Linked DNA regions of Homo sapiens: regions 1, 2 and 4 are each linked to region 3. The links are contacts of gene promoters, found by promoter capture Hi-C in human tissues and cell types (Jung and others, 2019). All regions are on one chromosome and are shown on one strand. The core of a region is centred on a gene start or on the middle of the fragment in contact, and the rest is flanking DNA. Distances in the headings are between cores, read along the strand shown. Region 1 overlaps CHRNA9 (cholinergic receptor nicotinic alpha 9 subunit). Region 2 has its middle 26 kb from the start of CHRNA9. Region 3 holds the start of RBM47 (RNA binding motif protein 47). Region 4 overlaps LINC02265 (long intergenic non-protein coding RNA 2265).

Evidence for each region. Contacts are between HindIII fragments. The study calls those that stand out against the background at their distance.
Region 1: a contact is called between a fragment that was not itself captured here and the fragment with the promoter of RBM47 in region 3, in 2 of the 25 tissues and cell types used here (ovary and pancreas).
Region 2: a contact is called between a fragment that was not itself captured here and the fragment with the promoter of RBM47 in region 3, in 5 of the 25 tissues and cell types used here (heart right ventricle, liver, mesenchymal stem cells and 2 more).
Region 4: a contact is called between a fragment that was not itself captured here and the fragment with the promoter of RBM47 in region 3, in 1 of the 25 tissues and cell types used here (lymphoblastoid cells).

Annotation. Positions count from the first base shown.
Region 1 is chr4:40,338,108-40,343,037 of GRCh38, forward strand. All of the region lies in intron 3 of CHRNA9 (cholinergic receptor nicotinic alpha 9 subunit), which reads left to right. Among named protein-coding and RNA genes, the nearest start is that of CHRNA9, 5.2 kb to the left of the region's middle. The HindIII fragment of the contact is 7,431 bases long and covers 1-4,930 here.
Region 2 is chr4:40,358,963-40,364,319 of GRCh38, forward strand. No RefSeq gene overlaps it. Among named protein-coding and RNA genes, the nearest start is that of CHRNA9, 26 kb to the left of the region's middle. The HindIII fragment of the contact is 6,053 bases long and covers 164-5,357 here.
Region 3 is chr4:40,626,545-40,631,457 of GRCh38, forward strand. RBM47 (RNA binding motif protein 47) reads right to left here and starts at 3,320. Exons shown (of 7, transcript NM_001098634.2): 1 at 2,852-3,320. RefSeq lists enhancers at 2,177-3,053, 3,054-3,931, 3,114-3,183. The HindIII fragment of the contact is 13,848 bases long and covers 1-4,913 here.
Region 4 is chr4:40,315,866-40,320,953 of GRCh38, forward strand. All of the region lies in intron 2 of LINC02265 (long intergenic non-protein coding RNA 2265), which reads left to right. Among named protein-coding and RNA genes, the nearest start is that of LINC02265, 11 kb to the left of the region's middle. RefSeq lists enhancers at 709-1,547, 1,156-1,455. The HindIII fragment of the contact is 3,787 bases long and covers 1,365-5,088 here.

The DNA.
Region 1 (4,930 bases), core at 276-2,775, 290 kb before region 3:
TTAATTAAACCGGAATGGGCCATCTAGAAACTGACCTGTGGATTTGGGGCTTTGTGTGGAGTGGAGGATGAACCAGTTTACGGGATACAAAGTGACGTTTTCCCGGTCTCAGAGCAAGGGGCATTGTATAACGGGTAGGTAAAGTTTATGTTTCGCAAGCTGTAAGGTGCATATGAATCGCCCAGGGAGTTTGTTAAAATACAGATTGTGATTCCATGGGTGTGGGGCGGGCCTGTGATTCTGCATTTCTACAAGCTCCGGAAGACGTGGGCACTGTGGGTCCATGGGCTGCATTTTGAGAAAAATACCAGATCTCTGGTCACAGTTCAAGCTCAGTGGCCCCGCCTGTTGTTGAAAGAGCTTCTCTCTGTTTTTATTCTGGAACCCAAGTTTCTGTGGAGTGGGAAGAGTTCCTCTGTGGCTCAGACCTATGTGAATGAGGGGCAGCTCAGGGGGCTCCCCTGGGTGGAGGCTTCCAGTGGGCATGGATTTCCTTTAAGGAAGCAGCACGGGTGGGTTGCAGCCTGGATTTTAGTCTCACTCCTTACTCAGAGAGCTCATCTAAGGGTCATGAGCTCTGGAATCATAGCCCTGTTTTTCTGTCCATTCCCAACTCTGAGTGGCCAGAGGAATCATCTGTATTCCTTCCCAAGGAATATAACAGGAAGATAACATTCAAATACTGGGCTTTATTCCTCCAGTTTACCCTCCCTCCCCGTGCTCGCTCTCTCTGTCTCTGTCTCTGTCTCTCTCTCTCTCTGTCTCTCTCTCTCCCTCTCTCTCTCACACACACACACACACAGAGCAAGAAAACAAACCACATTGTCCATTACCACACTCTCGTCTGCAGAGTGCAGGAGAGTAATATCTGATAATTTCATTGACACAGGCAGGGCGTGAGGACTAACCCCTGTAATCCCAGCACTTTGGGAGGCCAAGGCAGGTGGATCGCCTGAGGTCAGGAGTTCGAGAACAGCCTTGCTAACATGGTGAAATCCGGTCTTTATTAAAAATACAAAAAATCAGCTGGGTGTGGTGGCGGGCGCCTGTAATCCCAGCTACTTGGGAGGCTGAGGCAGGAAACTCACTTAAACCCGGGAGGCAGGGGTTGCAGTGAGCCAAGATTGCACCACTGCACTCCAGCCTGGGCGACAAGAGCGAGACTCCATCTCAAAAAAAAAAAAAAAAAAAAAAGAAAGAAAAAAGAAAAAGAAAGATAATTTCATTGACACAGATGATCTCTTACAGAATTCTGTAAGTTCTTTTTTTTTTAATTTTAAGACAGGGTCTGGGGGCCAGGCATGGTGGCTCACGCCTGTAATCCCAGCACCTTGGGAGGCCGAGGGGGGCGGATCATGAGGTCAGGAGATCGAGACCATCCTGGCTAACATGGTGAAACCCCGTCTCTACTAAAAATACAAAAAAATTAGCTGGGTATGGTGGCAGGCACCAGGAGGCTGAGGCAGGAGAATGCCGTGAACCCGGGAGGCGGAGCTTGCAGTGAGCCGAGATCGCGCTCCAGTCCAGCCTGGGTGACAGAGCTAGACTCTATCTCAAAAAAAAAAAAAAAAAAAGGCGGGGTCTCACTCCTATCGCCCACGCTAGAGTGCAGTGGTGTGATCATGGCTCACTACAGCCTCAACTTCCCGGGCTCAGGTTATTCTCCCACCTCTGCCTCCTGAGTAGCTGGGACTACAGGTGCATGCCACCATGCCTAGTTATTGTTTTTTTTAATTTTTAGTAGAGACAGAGTCTCATCATGTTGCCCAGGCTGGTTTCGAACTCCTGGGCTCAAGTGATCCACCCAGCTCAGCCTCCCAAAGTGCTGGGATTACAGGCATGAGCTGCTGTGCCCGGCCAGCATTCTGTAAGTTCTAAAAATTCTCTCCAGAAGTCAAACAGAACGGTGGTCCCCCTCTCCCTCCTGTTTTGATAGGCTGAGGTGGTGACCTTGTCTTACTGAAATGCTTCTTTGCAAGCTTACAAGGCATCCTAAGTTAAGCTGACCCCACTGCTCCCTTATTAGAGAAGCCAGTTATGTACTCATGAGTTCACACAAGCCTAGTGTGGCTTTGGCTGGTTCTGTCCACATTGTCCCTTCCCCACTCTCCACCCCTTTACACAGAGCCTTTCACCACACTGATTCATCATCTCCTTTTTGTTCCTCTGGTTGACTCTTTAGTCATCTCTGTGCTCTTGTCATGGACAATTCTGTTTCTGCTCCTCTCTTCTCTTTTGCCTTCTCCTTCTCAGTAAAACTTCTCAGAGTTTTGCTGTGTAGAGGAACCTCTAAATGGAGCTATGGTTGGATGACATCTTCATGCCTTTAACAAATTGAAATGAAAATGGAAGAGTGTTGCAGGATCAGGCAAAGAAGGGCCCTTAGTCATGGCTATTTCCCTGAGCTCAGTCCTTCTTGCTGAATCCCTGACTCTGTAGAATCTTCTGATGCCAGATACAATATCATTGCTTCTCAGAAGCAGGTACAGAACATCATAGGCAACACAATGGGCTTCCTGAGTTGTGGCAAGAAGGAGAAATAGGGTTAGGGGGTAGGTGAGTCAGTCCAGTGTGATAAAGACACTCAGGCAGGAAGATGCTTAGCATCTAGAGTCACCATTGGTGCCCAAATCCATGGGGCTAGACTGGTTAGGGAGTGATCAGGAAGGAGATGGGCCTGGATGCCACTTCACAGAACAGTTGAATTTGCTGATGCTTAGTTTGGAAGAGAGAAGACCTTGAAGACTTGATGATGGTTACCTTAGGTAATCAGAGAGAAAGTAAGGTAGAAAAAAGAGAACAAACAACGTTCCAGAAGACAAAACCCGAGATAATCAGTAGAAGCCAAAGGGAAGATAAGCTCTCCAAAAAAAAAAAAAAAAAAAAGAACATTTCCCTAATAACTTCGGCAATGAATTGTCCCAAGAAATAGTGAGCTTTTTAGCAATGTAACAGTTCAAGTAGATACTGGCTCTTTCAGTAAATCAGTAGAGAAATAAATGAATTGGGGCTCAAAGTTCTGGCAGGAATGTTTAGTATTAGTATATGGTTAGTATAGTGGCTGGTATAAGAGGCTACAAGGATTCCTGACATTTTTAGATTAGGTAAAATGCAGATTACAGAAATTTTAAATTTGAATTCATTATGGCAGGGTTTTCATGGTCAGGTTTTTTTTTTTGTTTTTTGGCGGGGGTGGTGGCGGTAGTTTGCTCTGTCACCTAGGCTAGAGTGCCCTGGTGTGATCGTAGCTTACTGCAGCCTTGACCTCCTGGACTCAAGTTGAGAGAGTATTCTCCTCAGTAGGGTCTGGAGACAGGGAGCCTTCACTTCAGCTTCCAACTCGTCACAGACCAAGTCTTCATTGCATGAGGTGTAACTTCACTTCAGCCTCTGATTGGTTGTAGGTCACATCTTCATTTGCATAGGGTATAACTTCACTTCAGCCTCCAATTGGTTGTGGGCCAAGTTTTTATTTACATAGGGCGCAACCAATGGGAAACGTCTAGAGGGTACTTAAACCCCAGAAGATTTTGTAACTGGTGGTCTTAAGCTGCCTACTCGAGCCCATACCCACTCTGTGGAGTGTGGTTTCGTTTCAATAAATCTGAGCATTTATTGTTTCTTTCATTGTTCTGTACTTTCATTGCTTTATTTGTGCATTTTGTCCAATTCTTTGTTCAAAATGTCAAGAACGTGGACGACCTGTAGTCAAGACCCTCCATGTGTAACAAAGTGATCCTCTCACTTCAGTCTCCTGAGTAGCTGGGACTACAGGTATGCACTACCACACCCAGCTAATTTTTACAAACCTTTTTATAGAGATGAGGTCTCACTATATTGCCTGTTGCCTAGGCTGGTCTTGAATTCCTGGGCTCAAGCAATCCTCCTGCCTTGGCCTTCTAAAGTGCTGGGATTACAGGCATGAGCCACCATGCCTGGCCCCAGTGGTTGGATTTTAATGAGCAGTTTTAATGGTTGGATTTTAGACCTGGTGAGGAACTGGGTGCCCTATTGTATTCAAAAGAATTTGTCTAGAATTTAGCTTTAAGGCCAGCTTATGTATCTATCTTTAGCCATATAAGATGATTTAGAGAATGGCAAGACTTCCAGAAGAGACTGGAAATAAAGGAGGGCGAGGAGAAACAGGTTTGGAAAAAAAGAGGATGAATTTGATGTTCAGTTTGGGGAACCAAAGAAACATCCTCATGGAAATGTCCAATAGTGAGATTGCAAAGGCAAATCTGAAACCTGGAGAAACAGATAGGGCTAATAGAGATGCCAAAAGCCCTTAAAGTCCTATAGAACTACTCATGGAAGGAAAGAAAATGGCTGAGAATAAAGTTGAAAAAACCTCTACATTTAAGGAATTTACAGAGGAAACTTAGAATTAGTAGTTAAAGAGATAGAAGGAGAAGCAAGAGAGTCATGTCATGAAAACCAAGGGAAGAGAGGATGTCTAGGAATAAGCCATAATCCCAATGTTTGGGAAGAGTTGAAGAAGATGAAGACTTAGGAGAAGTCTTGAGATTTGCCTAGTTGTACTTGTCGGAAAGACATCAAAAAGCAGGAGTCAGGAAATAAAAGCAAGAGGAAACGGGACAATAGCAGGTATCAGTTACTTTTGAAAGCAGTGTGTGGAAGGAGATGAGAGAGGTAGAAGGGCCAGGGAGAAAAGGAGTTTGGCAGGAGAGACTTGCGAACAGAGTTGGAAAGTGGCTAGAGGGGCCAGAGAGAAGAAGAGGGACCAAGGGAGGCAAAATCCTGAAGGAGGCATGGGAGGAGAGGACTCACACGACCAGAAGGGAAGTTAGCCAGGAAGAGAGAGGGGGGAACTTCTTTTTGATATGGAAAGGAAGGAAAAGTGAATATGTGAAAGAGACATTGGAGATGGAACGAGGAAGGGATCCTGGGACTGAGTAAACAGACAAGT
Region 2 (5,357 bases), core at 1,940-4,439, 270 kb before region 3:
AAAAAAAAAAAAAAAAAGAATAACAATTACTCAAGTTCCACAATCATAGCAATAACAACTATTCATTTACTATTATTTTCCTTCAATCATATTTATGTGTCTAGTTTCTCTGCTATAATTATAATCATTATGTATTTACTATTTTGTCCTGCTATATTTATTTATTTATTTATTGAGACAGAGTCTTGCTCTGTTGCCCAGGCTGGAGTGCAGTGGCTCTCTCTCGGCTTACTGCAATATCCGCCTCCTGGGTTCAAGCGACTCTCCTGCCTCAGCCTCCTGAGTAGCTGGGATTACAGGTATGTGCCACCACACCCGGCTAATTTTGTATTTTCAGTAGAGATGGGGTTTCTCCATGTTGGTCAGGCTGGTCTTGAACTCCTGACCTCAGGTGATCTGGTTGCTTTGGCCTCTCAAAGTGCTGGGATTACAGACATGAGCCACCGCATCTGGACTTATTTTCATTTTTGAGATGGGGTCTTGCTCTGTCATCCAGGCTGGAGTGCAGTAATGCAATCACGGCTCACTGAAGCCTGGACTTCCTGGGCTCACGTCATCCTCCCATCTCAGTCTCCTGAGTAGCTGGGACTACATGCATGCATCACCAAGCCCAGCTAATTTTTTAATTTTTTATAGAGATGGGGTTTTACTATGTTGCTCAGGTTGGTCTCAAACTCCTAGGCTCAAGCAATCCTCCCACTCAGTCTCCCAAAGTGCTGGGATTACAGGTGTGAGCCACCTGCCCAGACAGCATTCAATTTTTAAATAATTTTTTGTATAGATGGGGTTTCATTTTGTTGCCCTGGCTGGTCTTGAACTCCTGGCCTCAAGTGATCCTCCCACCTCAGCCTCCCAAAGACTCTGGTATTATAGGTATGCGTTCTTCAATTTGTACTGAACCTGTGGTAGGCAGAATAATGGTCCACCAAAGATGTCCAAGTGCTAATGTGAAGGACTGGTGAGTGTGCTAAGTTACCCCGCAATGAGAAGTTAAGGTTGCTAATCAACTGACCTAGAGGTGGGGAGATAATTTTAAATTATCCAGCTGGATAAAGATCCTTTTAAGTAGAAAAGGGAGGCAGAAGAGAGAGAACCAAAGAGATGGTATCATGAGAAGGACTCAGCCAATGTTGCTGACTTCGAAAAATGGAGGAAAAGAGCTATGAACCAACAGTGTGAGAAGCAGCCTCTAGGAATCGGAAAAGTCAAAGCAACAGATTGTCCCCTAGAGCCTCCAAAAGGAAAGCAGCCCTGCTGATATCTTAATTTTAGCCCAGTGAGATCCATTCCAGACTTTTGACCCTCCCAAACTCCAAGATAACAAATGTGGGTTAAGACATGAAATTTATGGTAATTTGTTATAGCAGCAATAGAAAACCAATTCAGTATCCAATGTTTAAGAAATAAGACTGTGGTGGCAATTAAAAGACTGTAGAGAAAAGTGGTAAAAGGCAGGGAGATCTATTGGGATTTTTTTTTTTTTTTTACCTGTTTAGGAAAGTGATAATGAAGGTTTGACCCAAGATGGTGGGAATAAGAAAATGGATAAGATTACAGATCACAAAATATTTATGACCTAGAATAGACAGGCTAGTTGGATACGGGCTTAGGGAGAGGATGGCATTGAGAATAATGCAGACAATCAAGGTGAAGAGTAAAAGAGAACCAGGTATTGGAGGAAAGAATTCTTTGTAGGGCATCTTGAGCTGGAAATTCTCATAGGAAATCCTGGCAGAGATAGCTAGTAAGTAGTCGACCATGCATTTGAAACTGGAGAAAAGTGAAAGCTAAAATAATTTTAAAATGAAAAATATTAGGTGGGGTGTGGTGGCTCATGCCTGTAATCTGAGCACTTTGGGAGGCTGAGGCAGGCGGATCACGATGTCGGGAGATCGAGACCATCCTGGCTAACACGGTGAAACCCCATCTCTACTAAAAATACAAAAAATTAGCCAGGCGTGGTGGCAGGCAACTATAGTCCCAGCTACTCTGGAGGCTGAGGCAGGAGAATGGCGTGAACCCAGGAAGCAGAGCTTGCAGTGAGCCAAGATCACGCCACTACACTCCAGCCTGGGTGACAGAGCAAGACTCTGTCTCAGTTAAAAAAAAAAAAAAGAAAAAGAAAAATATTAAAGAGATGTTATACTCAGGTTAATTGTTAAAGTATTTTTAACTGATTTCAGTGGGTAAGACATGGTGCTACAAACTGTGAGAAACTCAATAGAATAAAATCACATTCCTTGCCAGAATTCTAGAAACTCACAATCAGTCTGCATCATTAAAGCTTTATCTTGTTATGCGGTCATTTCTTCATTTTCATGTCTACTTCCCCAAGTATATTCAGACCCTCTCCAGACCTGGGGCCCAGAAGCTCTGTCATTATTCTCTCCGTCATTGTGCACAATAACAGGCCTAGTACACAATCATTAAACAGTAAACAATTGTTAAATGAATGACCGGGTGAAAGGAAGAGCTGTTAGAGAGTCCAACAAATCACTACAGAAATGCTGACCATGAAAAGCCTCCTATATTATGCAACAGACTGCCTTCAAAATAACAGCAATTGAGTTGGCAACAGACTTCTCATCTGCAACTATAGAAGCCAAGAAACATGGAGTAATATCTTCAAAATGCCAAAGAAAATTGACTGTCAACATAAAATTTGAACACTCAGCTGAACTATTCACAGTTGCAGAAAAAAATGTAGACGTACAAAAAAATAACAATACTTACCTTGCCCTTACCCTTGACCCTTAATTTAAATAACTTCAACAAGAACAAAAGTGAACTTAATGGAAGGAAGAAAAATACAGAAAGCAACAATGAGAAAAACATCAATAAAATATAATTTGTGGCAGGGCACGGTGGCTTATGCCTGTAATCCCAGCACTTTGGGAGGCCAAGGCGGGTGGATCACCTGAGGTCAGGTGTTTGAGACCAGCCTGGCCAACATGATGAAACCTTGCTCTACTAAAAATGCAAAAAATAACCAGGCATGGTGGAGCGCCCCTGTAATCCCAGCTACCCGAGAGGCTGAGGTGGGAGAATTGCCTGAACCCAGGAGGTGGAGGCTGCAATGAGCCTAGATTGTGTATAGTGTAATTATTGCAATAGTATTATTAATAATACAAAGACATGTTTCATATAAGGTAGAACAAAAACTCTATGTAATGATGTGGAAATTAAGAAGGGGAAGGTAAGATGGAACCTAAACCACACTAAGGTCTTTGTCTAGATAACAAATTACTTTTTTTTTTTTTTTTGAGATACGGTCTTACTCTGTCACCCAGGCTGGAGTGCACTGCTGCAATCTTGGCTCGCTGCAACCTCCGCCGCTTGGGTTTAAGAAATTCTCGTGCCTCAGCCTCGTTAGTAGCTGGGATTATAGGCGCCCACCATTATGCCTGGCTAATTTTTGTATTTTTCCTAGAGATGGGGTTTTGGCATGTTGGCCAGGCTGGTCTCGAGCTCCTGACCTCAAGTGATCTGCCTGCCTCAGCCTCCCAAAGTGCTGGGATTACGGGCATGAGCCATTGTGCCCAGCCACAAATTACTTTTAATATTAGTAAAATATATCATATTTGAATAGATGCCAAAAATTTAAGGAATGGCCTTAAAAGTATAGAAATATTAGTTGTGTCTTCTAAATTGAAAAAGGAAACACGAGGAAAGGTAAACTATTTCCAACACAAAAGAAGACAGAAAAGGGGAAAAATAGAAGAGATGCTTCATTCAACTGCTCTTAGCCATGCTTTGGTACAGAGTTCCCTGGATAAGCAATGCAAGTAAAAATACAAACAAAATACAAAATACTACAGCAAAGCGGGAAGGTAAATGTTGTATAGCTATTGAGACAATCAGACTACTGTATACAAAAATAAGTTTCAGACAGATTAAAGACATAGATGTCAAAACAAAAACAAACAAACAAACAAAAAAGCTTGTAAGAAAATTAGACTTCCTTTTTTTTGAGATGGAGTTTCGCTCTTGTTGCCCAGGCTGGAGTGCAATGGCGTGATCTCGGCTCACAGCCACCTCCGCCTCCCGTTGGGTTCAAGCAATTCTCCTGCCTCAGCCTCCCAAGTAGCTGGGATTACAGACATGTGCCACCACGCCTGGCTAATTTTGTATTTTTAGTAGAGAGGGGGTTTCTCCATGTTGGTCAGGCTGGTCTTGAACTCTCAACCTCAGGTGATCTGCCTGCATCAGCCTCCCAGAGTGCTGGGATTACAGGTGTGAGCCACCACGTCCGGCCAAAAATTAGACTTTCTAAATAAAATTCTTCACCTCCATGCATTTTAAGAAGTGGTAGCCACTATGGAAGAGGAGCCAGGGTGCTCTGGAGATAAAGCAAGGGACTGCTTTGGGTTGGGTGGGCAGCCTGTGGAGAAAGTGGTGTTTCAGATGAGACCTGAGGGTGAGAAAGAGCTGGCCGGGGTTAGAGGTGGGAGAAGTGCCAGGTTGCAGGTAGGAGCTCAGGCTCAAGGGCAGAACACAGCTCCTGACGTTGGAGAAAGGGAGAGGAGGCCCCTGAGGCAGAACAGTGAAATCAGATCAATGACCCAAGAGACATAAGAGTCGAGATTGGCAAGGTGAGCAGGGCTGGGTGATCCAGAGCCTTGCAAAGTTTAAGAAAACACCAACTACTTTGTTTATTGTCTGACTGCCTCAGCGCGCTGAGGTGTGTCCAGGTTTGTTGAGGTCCTGACCTTTGTTCTTTCTCCTTCTTTAGCCTCTGTGTCTCCTTTTCCGTCAGCTTAGGGCTCAGACCAACGCTTTACCAATGCAACCGGGACAAACCTGGCAACTGGACTGTCTTGGACAAACTGGAAACACAAGTTCTAGAACATCTGAAGCAATTGTGGTGAGGCCACTTGACATGTCACCAACCCCAGAGAGCAAAGAGCTCTCTGCCTTTTCTTCCTTCCTCTCAGATTACGCCTTTGAAATAAGACCTGACTGTTAAAACTTCATGAGCTTATCAATATATCCAAGCCACTCCAACACTTAAAAAATAAAACCCCATGACAAAACCTCTTTTGCCTTTGTGTATTTCTGTCTCTTTACTCTTGTCAGTCAAATTTCCCTCCTGGATCATTCAGGCTTCCAGCAGGACACAGATGGTGTGTTCATATAAAGATAATTTGAGGAAGGTGTAATAAAGGAGTGTCTGCAAAGGTGTAGGCAGGTTGCAGAGAAACACCAGGGGCAGTAGAAAATCCCAGGCCTAGAAAAGCAGAGCTGTTACCACTCTAGGCCTGAGAGGAGGTGGGAAGGAGTGGTTACCTGGACCCAGGAGGAAAGCCATGACTTCTGGTTGAGCAAATGTGGCAGAAGCCTTAGGGAAGGAGTTGGGG
Region 3 (4,913 bases), core at 2,070-4,569:
TCTTGGCCGTTTATTCCTCTAGACACTCTCTCCCTTTCTACTTTCGCTGGAAAATGAAAGTTTTCCTCCCCCACACCTTTTTCAGAGCAAAAGATACGAGAACCTTAAAAGCAGGTGGTCATTGACTTCAAGGGGACGAGATCGCCCTCCCCACTGCCTCTCCCCATACAGACGCTCACAGAATAGACGGGGAAGCAACTATGAGAGAAACAGAAGCAATCAGAACTCCAGCTCAGACGACCTCAGGAGTTTTACCAACAGGATGATTCAGGACCACACACAAAAAATGGCAGGGTGCCATTTCCCCCGAATCTCTCCCGCATAAGATGGAAACAACAACTTGAGGTGGCAACTGAGCAATTAGTTACTGATCATTTCTATGACAATTCTCTGAAGGCTCCAAAGGCCTCCTATCTTGAAACCCAGGTCATCTCTGCATTGCTATTATTGAAAATCTTTATCCAGTTGCTCTTTGAAGCCACTACTTGGAGCAGTAATGTTGGGACCAACACACACCTTTTATGATATTAAACCAGAAAATCAGCATCATCATTAAGACACAGAGACTGTTCCCAAGAGGGAAAGAAAATATATCTCCTAATCAGGCCAGTAGCTGAAACACTGCAATATAACCTGTAGCTTGGAATCACGGTGACAAGCACTTAAAGCTGCATTTAATGTCTTCATTGTAACTTCATCAAAGTTTGGCACACAAATTCTACCTTTATTCTAAGCATACCCTTTTTCTAAGTCTCATGAATCCCAAACTTAAACCCTCTTCAGAGTTTTTTTTCCCCAGAATTATGTATCTTCTGGGATTACCTAATCACAGTTTCACTTGAGCCTGGGTCCAATTTTAAGAAAATCTCCCTCCCTTCACGCTTATATCCACTCCCCTGACCTTTTCTGAAAAATCAAGAGACTTAAGATGTGGAGGCGGAAACTTACTGAAATAGCCAAATGCTTTTCTATAGCAATGAAAGCTCAGTCATTTGGGACATGATTTAATCTTGAGCTTCAGAGCAGAATTTGAAAAGCAAATTAAATCCTTTTGTAAGAAAATAATTTCATCTTAACCCAATCTTTTAAAAAATCATTACCTAGAACAGTAAACCAAATAGTCTAATATGAATGTTCTTATCATGTGAGGAAAAAAATGAGTAGTCTTTAACACTAGTTAGAGCAAGTCTATAGAACACGTGTCCAGAAGCATGTAGTTCCCTTGCTTTCTGTCTTTATTTCATCCTCAGTATCACTACTGCTTTGGGCAGAATTCTTTCAAAATTTAATTTAAAGCAGCACAGTGGGGGAATCAAAAATAAATATGTTGACTATTAAAAATATAGAGATTGGTAAAAAAAATGATGATGATGAATTCTCAATCCTACAAACTTCTGTAAACGCAAAAACCAAGAGGAAGATAATAAATCTTTAATAATTGATTGATATTCAGAATATCTTGATCTAATTAATTTAAAGCATGGCCTACCTAGCCAGGTAAAGGACGGCACAGCTAGGCTTATTTCTTCATTTGACACATACTGAAAGTTAATAATGAAGCTAGGTGCTTGGGAAATTTCTGAGACCCCATCCTTCCAGCATGCAATAATTAAGTCAAAGAGGCCAACAGTGTGTATATCAGAACAAGGTGAAGGGTAAAGCAGACCAGAAAAAAATATTAAAAACCAAACCATCTCCTCCTTTCTTTTTTTCCTTCTGTTTTCCTTTCAGACTGGGTTGATTTTAGTTCCCTCCAAGACTTCAAGTCATTGATCTAACAAAGATCATTGTTTAAATTAATAGCAACACAAACTCCCACAAAGTGATCTCTTCTTATGCTCTAGGTTGAGTACTTTGGTTTATCTAGAGGTTGTGTGTTACGCCGCTGACCACCTTTCACCTTTTAGAATCGGCACCTGCAATTCTCAAATGCTCTGGATCTAATTGCCAACCTTTTGAGCTCAAAACTTCGGCAACTCCTTCATGTTGGGTTGTCAACCCTTTGCTTTCCCTCCCCTGAGAAATTCGTATGACCTTGCCTTAAAACTTTTAAAGAATACATTTTAAAATCTATATTCCTGCTAAAGAAAACAGTGAGTCATTAAAATACCACCAGATAAAAAAAAAAGGTTTGATTTTTAGTTCAGGTCGGTAATGGCCTGTAAGTACCTTGAAGATGGTATCTTCCTATCACTTATGCCTTGGGACAGTACCCAAGAGTGGCTGAACTTTTACCTAATTAAAAAATGAGTCATTTATTTGAAAAATTCCACTTCCATTTATTTTATCTGATTTCTTAAATATCCGGTCAACTGCTAATTTGTCAGATGTCATAATTCGTCAGTCCTACCCTTTTCTACAGGCTGAATTTTTAATTTGAAACAACTACACCTCTACCGAGTGTTACTTTCAGACGTAAATTACTGCAGGAAGACCCCCCTCTGCCTTGGTTAACACTTAAATGAGATGCCTCCTGTCCAGGACGCTTCCTCAGTCTCACTGTAATAATCTGAGTCTAAAGTCACCTGTGCTTCTGGGCGGTCCAATCATGTATTTTCAAGAGTGAAAAAAAAAAATCAGTTTCTTTTATGGGAAAAGATTCATCACTACAGGAAACACGATGGGACTGACTGTATATGATTATCTGCCTTCCCAGAGGTTGACCCTTTTAAAACCGTTTTATAAACCCTTTATTTCCCACTAAATATACCAAGAGACAGAAGATGAGTGATAGCATGAGGGATAAGAGCTAAAGAGAGAAGAATAAGAAAAAAATATACACTTCAAAAATTGGGACCCAAATGTAAGATTAAGGGACAATAGTTAGAAGGACTACCAAAAACCACCTTACCTTTCCTTGTTAAGTTTTTGGAGCCGCCCACTTCAGAAATTAACACCATTCACAGCCCAGGAGCAACTTAACACAGCTAGGAAGTCACCTACAACATCTTCTCGTCCGCCTTCTTTTTAATGTAAAACCAAAATAAGGAGTGTCCAGCGACTCCCCACCGCGCCGCTTAAAGCAACAGAGCGTTTTAGGCTTAACTCCCAGGCTCTGGGAATTCCAGTGGGTCAGAATTGCTTAACCTTGGAGACTTGCAGAGAGAAAGTCTCCAGGAGGACCGCTCCCCAAACCCTGGTTTCTCTCTATCCCAAGCTGCACATTCCACAGTGGAAAGCGGGAGCGGCGACCCGAAGGCAGCGAAGTTCTCTCGGGCTCAGCTCCCGAGGCCGGGAGCGCGCGGCGGTTCCACCCGCAGAGCGGCGCCGCGTCCCGGCTGCGTGGGGCGCTGCGCACGGGAGCGCTCAGCGTCTAGTCTGCGGGCCCTTCCCGGTTCCCTCCCTCTCTCCTCCCGCCGCCCGCCCCCTGCCGAGGCCATCCGCCTCACAGTAGCAAGGTTGTCTCTCGTCTACTCCCTTCCCTTAAACTCACCAAACCAGATTTTTACTCCCAACACCGGCAACTTCCCGTAAATCTGCCCTGAAATTTTATCCTGCTGGCTGAGCCTCCCCTGGCTAAAGGCCAGTGCCACATTCCTGTTGTTTTTTAGGAGCGCAGATACCTTTGCTGAAGGTTCAAAGAAAATCGGCCTTGATGGCAGAGATTGGGGGACTTGACCAGACGGACTTCTCTCCCCGCCCCAAAAGTCACATGCCTTTCAGACACCCAGAAGTGGCACCTGCTCCACCTGGGGGCATCTGTCCGAGTCAGACGCTCGGCCCCCTTCGGGCTGCTCCGAGAAACCCAGCCAGAACCACGTTGGAGAAATTAGGAACCTGCTGCTGAATTTCAAGCCGATCGGAACCGCCCCGCTCCCCTTCTTCCCCCCATAAACAAGTCGCTGGACGAGGTGGGATCTCTGCGACCCCCGCGTGCCCGGGGAGAGCTCCCGGGGCGAGCTCCCGGGGCGTCCTTACCTGGGGCCGAGCATGGCTTGGCCGCGCGCAGGCAGGAGCGTCACGCGGACGGGGCCCTGACCTTTGCCGGGGCCTTCGCAGCAGGGCCTGGGGCCTGGGCGCTGCTCGTTCAGAAGTGGCTCATTTTAGTGCGCTCTGACCTAGAGTTACGGAGGGTTTCTAGAAAGGGAACAAAAAAACACTGCATTTAGAAACAGCAGCCAAGCCCTCGCTTCACCTTGCCTGCTCTCTGGGGAGTTGGCTCGAACCCCCACCCCATCCCAATTCCCAAGAAACCCAGATGTCCGCAATCCGCGCCCCACCCCCTCCGCCTTACCTGTTTATACAAGAGTTAAGGAGCCTCCCGCATTTCAGTGGAGCGCTAAGCCTGTTTGTAGGCGCGGAATGGGCCAACAGGAATCGAATTCTGTGACTAAACAAACTAGAAGAGGAAGCAGGCACCACCAGGAACCTAAAACAGAGTTGTGATTTCGGGTTGCAGTGTCATTCAGCTGAGGGGAAAGAAAAAAATACCGGGCTACTTTAGTGAAAGAATGTTCCAAAAATGGTTCTTTGCTGGTTGAGTTAACACATGCAAAGAGCTTAGAACGGTGCCTAGCACACAGTGTTAGCTGCCGTTATTGTTGTTGTTATTCTTCTTATTATTATTTACATTATGGCTTTTTTCTGAAGAAGAGTGTGTGGTCAGAGTTAGACATGGGCTGTAGCACCAGCATTGCCACTCACCAGCTGTGAGGCCATGAGCAAGATATTTAATCTCTCCCAGCCTCAGTTTCTGGAAGATTCTAACGATGGGATTTTTACAAACAGTTTATATTCATTGCTGACAGTCTTGAATACAATGGGAAATAAAGTCCCTGTAAAGGGTAGCCAACTGAATTTCATCTCACTTAAAAGTTACAAGATTGACAACAGAAATGGAGATAAATTTGCCTGCATTCCATGAAGCTCACTAACGGGAAGGAAATTCAGGGCCCAGCAATCACCCATCTGCT
Region 4 (5,088 bases), core at 2,008-4,507, 310 kb before region 3:
TTCAATATTTAAAAAGTTTTGAAATGTTTATCCTCTTTGAAACTCCTTTTATGATGTTATCCTGGAGAAATAAAGATATAATAACTATTTTGTATTAAGTTGATCATTGTGACATTATAATGGTGAAAAATTAGAAATAACCTAAACATCTAGCATTTAGAGAATGATTAATATTGGGAAAATGAACTGTAATATAATGCGGTCTTTTAAAAATCAAGTTTCTGAAAATTTCACCAGATGGAGAAATACTGACAATATGCTAATTAAATTCACTATTAATCTTGATGTAAAATCTGTGTTAATCTCCATGATGTTAAAAATGCATAGAAAAATAAAAAGCCTAGAAGAAAATATTCCCAAATGACAACAGAAGTTGCCTCTGGTAGTGAGATTACAGGAGATTCTTTATTTTCTGAACCTTTGTATTTTCATATTCTTTTCACTTTTTTTCTGCAGTAAGCATGCATTATTTTGTAATGTGAAAGAAAAAGAAAGTAAAATACTGAGAAAATTATGACGTGCATTCCTGGCATGAGTCAGGAGCTGAATTTTCATGTTTAAATTAGTTTCAGAAACACAGGAGTGGTTTCTAGGCAACCTGCTTGGGAAATTATGTTCATTTCCATTGTTGCTGGAGTGTGCGTGAGTGTCTGAAAGAAAATGTAAGAGACGAACCTTTGCAAAAGCAGACTCCTGCTAAGGAAAAATAAGCTTTGCCACCCAGTTTTGGTCATGGGGACTTGAGTTACTGTGACCTCAGAGGCCCCTAGGGGCCTGATCATTTTTTTTCTTTCTTTTTTCCTCCATCTTTTCTTTTCTTTTCTTTCTTTCTTCCTTCCTTTTTCTTTGCTTGCTTTTTTTTTTTTCAAATGAGTGATTGATTTTAATGAGGATTGCTATAGGATGCTATAGGATGCTATAGGAATGTCTAATGTACAGTACATTAGACATTCAAGCCTCTGCATAAGGTGTGGGAAACTGAGAGGGGAGAGAGAATCAAGCAAAAACCCCCACTCTGTGCCTCTGCTGAGAATCCAGGGCTGTAATTGAGGCCGTTGCAAGGCTTTACAAGACGGATTGTAGCTCAGGATGTGAAAAGATTGCCTCATCATCATGTGAGTCATTTACCATTATTATAGACAATCCTGCTGTGCCAAAGGGCTTTTAATCAGAAGGAAACACTGAAAAATGGAATCAGGGCTAAGAAACGCTTGGCCCAGCCTGATGGGCTGTGGAGGATGGTCTGAGTTAAGAATATTTTTTAGCCTCAAGGGAGATGCGTTCTTCACTAAGCGTTTGCAGAAGGTGCAGAAGGTATTGTTCTCAGCCCACGGTGTGTGTTTTGTTGACCTTGACTGCGTTTTTCAGCAAGAAGGAAAGGCTATTTGCCTGATAAATGGAATCGGAGCTCAGCGTCTCGCTCCTAGGCCCCCTAGTGGTTGTCTTTTGCAATTAAAAAAATGAAGTGACGTGAGGTCAACAGCAGGCTCTTTGGGTAACGATCGCAGGTGACTAGAGTGTGCTGCCTTTGACGCTGGCTCCCCCAGACTTCATCAAAGCTCAGGGGAGAAGCCTTGAAAATCAGGAGCTCCAGAGGGACAGACGCATTTCCTCACAGAACGCGGGACAGGAAGGCAGGAACCTTCCGTTGTGGATGGTGAAGAGCTTGTTCTGTCTTCAAACTTCTGAACCAATGTCCTGCATTCCATGTATGTGGCTCATGGTTCTGACCACTGCTGCTTTAAAATGACAGACCTCTGGGCCGGGCACGGTGGCTCACGCCTGTCTGTAATCCCAGCACTTTGGGAGGCCGAGGCGGGCAGATTACGAGGTCAGGAGATCGAGACCATCCTGGCTAACACGGTGAAACCCCTGTCTCTACTAAAAATACAAAAAAAAAAAAAAAAAAAAAAAAAAAAAAAAAAATTAGCCGGGCTTGGTGGCGGGCGCCTGTAGTTCCAGTCCCAGCTACTCCGGAGGCTGAGGCAGTAGAATTGCTTGAATCCAGGAGGCGAAGCTTGCAGTGAGCCGAGATCGTGCCACTGCACTCCAGCCTGGATGACAGAGTGAGACTCCATCTCTCACACACACAAAAAACAAAACAAAACAAACAAACAAACAAACAAACAAAAAGACAGACCCCTGGAAGGTAAATGAAGAGAGGGACCAACAGTGACTGCCCCTCCTTCTCTGGCAGCTCTTGAGGGCAGGCCCTTCTCTTTTCATCTTGTACTCCAGGGCTTATCAAAAGGGCTTAGTATAAGTAGACTCCACAGATGCTTGTGGTCTGAATGATATGTGGAGCCCAGTGGGGTAGATAATATTATTCCTTTCACCCATGAGGAAACTGAGGTGCAAAGAAGATTTTTTAAAAATGCCTGAGATCTCTCACTAATAAATGACAGAACAGAAACTCCAGTCCCAAATCCCAAAGGCTTTTTTTCTACCAAGATGCACCCCCACGCCTCCACCATGCACTCCATCTTGCTGGTCCAGTCCGTCAAGTGAGAGCCTCGTTTTTGGTCTCTGCCTCCTATGGATCAGTCCACCCTGGAGGCACAACCTTCTTTCCCTTCTCTGAACTTCTGGTTCAGACCTCTCATTTGGCAGCGAGTCACGCCTTTAAGGAATAGTTGGCAGGGTGCAGTGGCTCACGCCTATAATCCCAGCACTGTGGGAGGCTGATGTGGGCAAATCGCTTGAGCTTAGGAGTTCGGGACTAGCCCGGGCAACATGGTGAAATCCCTGTCTCTACTAAAAATAAAAAAAAAAAGTAGCTGGATGTGGTGGCGGTGCCTGTGGTCCCAGCTCTCTGGAGGCCGAGGTGGGAGGATCGCTTGAGTCCAGGAGGCAGAGGTTGCAATGACCTGAGATTGCACCATTGCACTCCAGTGGGTGACAAAGCAAGACCCTGTCAAAAAAAAAAAAAAAAAGAGTCAGGTGCAGTGGCTCACGCCTGTAATCCCAGCACTTTGGGAGGCCAAGGCAGGTGGATCTCCTGAGGTCAGGAATTTGAGACCAGCCTGGCCAACATGGTGAAACCCCGTCTCTACCAAAAATACAAAAAAATTAGCCGGACCTGGTGGCAGGCGCCTGTAATCCCAGCTACTTGGGAGGCTGAGGCAGGAGAATCTTTTGAACCCGGGAGATGGAGGTTGCAGTGAGCCGAGACTGTGCCATTGAACTCCAGCCTGGGGAACAAGAGTGAGACTTCTCTCAAAAAAAAAAAAAAAATAGTCTTCTTGCTTGCATTACTTATTTAACTTTTATTGTTATTCAGCTTTTCTTAGAAATTTGTCTTTTTCCTCTAAATATTCCATAATCACCTTGAAGGATGAGATGATGTGTAGTTAATTCTTGTGAACTCTCTGCCCAGCATTCAGTAAATATTTGCAGTATGAGTGGATTTTGCAGCACTATTCTGATCAAAACTCACCTCTCAGTGCCTGTTTCTACTGGGAAACTAGGAAATATTTTTTTTGTTTTGTTTTGTGTTGTTTGAGACAGAGTCTCGCTCTGTCACCCAGGCTGGAGTGCAGTGGCCAGATCTTGGCTCACTGCAACTTCTGCATCCCGGGTTCAAGCGATTTTCCTGCCTCAGCTTCCCAAGTAGCCGGGACTACAGGCGCCCACCACCATGCCAGGCTGATGTTTGTATTTTTAGTAGAGATGGGGTTTCACCATTTTGGCCAGGCTGGTCTCGAACTCCTGACCTTGTGATCCACCCACCTTAGCCTCCCAAAGTGCTGGGATTACAGGTGTGAGCCACCATGACCAGCTGGAAGTGGTTTTAATATTTATCTTAAAACATGTATTCTCATCAAAAAGGTGATCCACTCCCCTCTGCTGAGGGGCTTACAACCTAAGTTAAGTTAAATACAGTTCTCTTTTCTCCAGAAGCTTAACTCTTGAGCTTGTACTTATCTTACTTATCTTGGCTATTACTACACTGGATTTAGGTCAAAGGTAGAATTTTTTTTTTTTTTTTGAAACAGAGTCTCACTCTGTCGCCCAGGCTGGACTGCAGTGGTGCGATCTCGGCTCACTGCAACCTCCACCTCCCGGGTTCAAGTGATTCTTTTGCCTCAGCTTCCCGAGAATCTGGGATTATAGGCGCCTGCCACCACGCCCAGCTAATTTTTATATTTTTAGTAGAGGTGGGGTTTTGCCATGTTGGCCAGGCTGGTCTCGAACTCCTGATCTCAAGTGATCTGCCTGCCTCGGCCTCCCAAAGTGCTGGGATTACAGGCATGAGCCTCTGCATCCAGGCTAGGTCAAAGGTGGAATCTAAATTCATTTAGGTCCTTCCATTTTGACTGGAATCTGTCAGCTCCCAAACACAGCACATCCGTTCCGCAACGGGGATCCACTCTGACAAGCTGGGTCACAGTGGGGCTAGTTTCTCTGCCAGGCGCATTTACATCCAAGGTTGTTTCATCTTGCTCTTAAGGCTGCCCTTTAGGGAGCCATGCTTGGCACAGGTGTGTGCACATTAAGGTTAAGACACTCAGCTGCCACCATCCTCTCACCGCGGACACCAGAAGCGTCACTGCCCAGGGAAGGCCAGCCAAGACTGCCTGGGGAATTGTGGCATGGGAGGAGGGTGACTGCCAATCAAGAGATCTCTGTCAGGCCTGGCTCTCACCACTACAATCATGTATTTCATGAGCATTTATTGGACACCTCTTGTATATCAAATACTGGGGATACCAAGACAAATGGAGCATCTGAGAGATGCTCAGTCTGGCCGGGGAGACAATAGGTAAACAGTTGAGTAACGGGATGGGCACTGTGATAGAAGTATGTACCAGAAACCACAAGAACATAGGAGAGGAAGCACGGAATTCTGCCTGGGAGGTTGGAAAGGGCTTTCTCGATTAGGTGATTTTCAAGATGAGACTTGAAAGAGAAGCTGTTCACTGGTTGGGCATGGAGGGGACAACTATTCCAGGCTGAGGGACAACATGGAAACAGCATGGAGGCCCGAGAGAGTGCAGCAAATCACCTTGCTATTAGAGCTATGTGGGGCCGGGTGCGGTGGCTCATGCCTGTAATCCCAGCACTTTGGGAGGCCTAGGTGGGCAGATC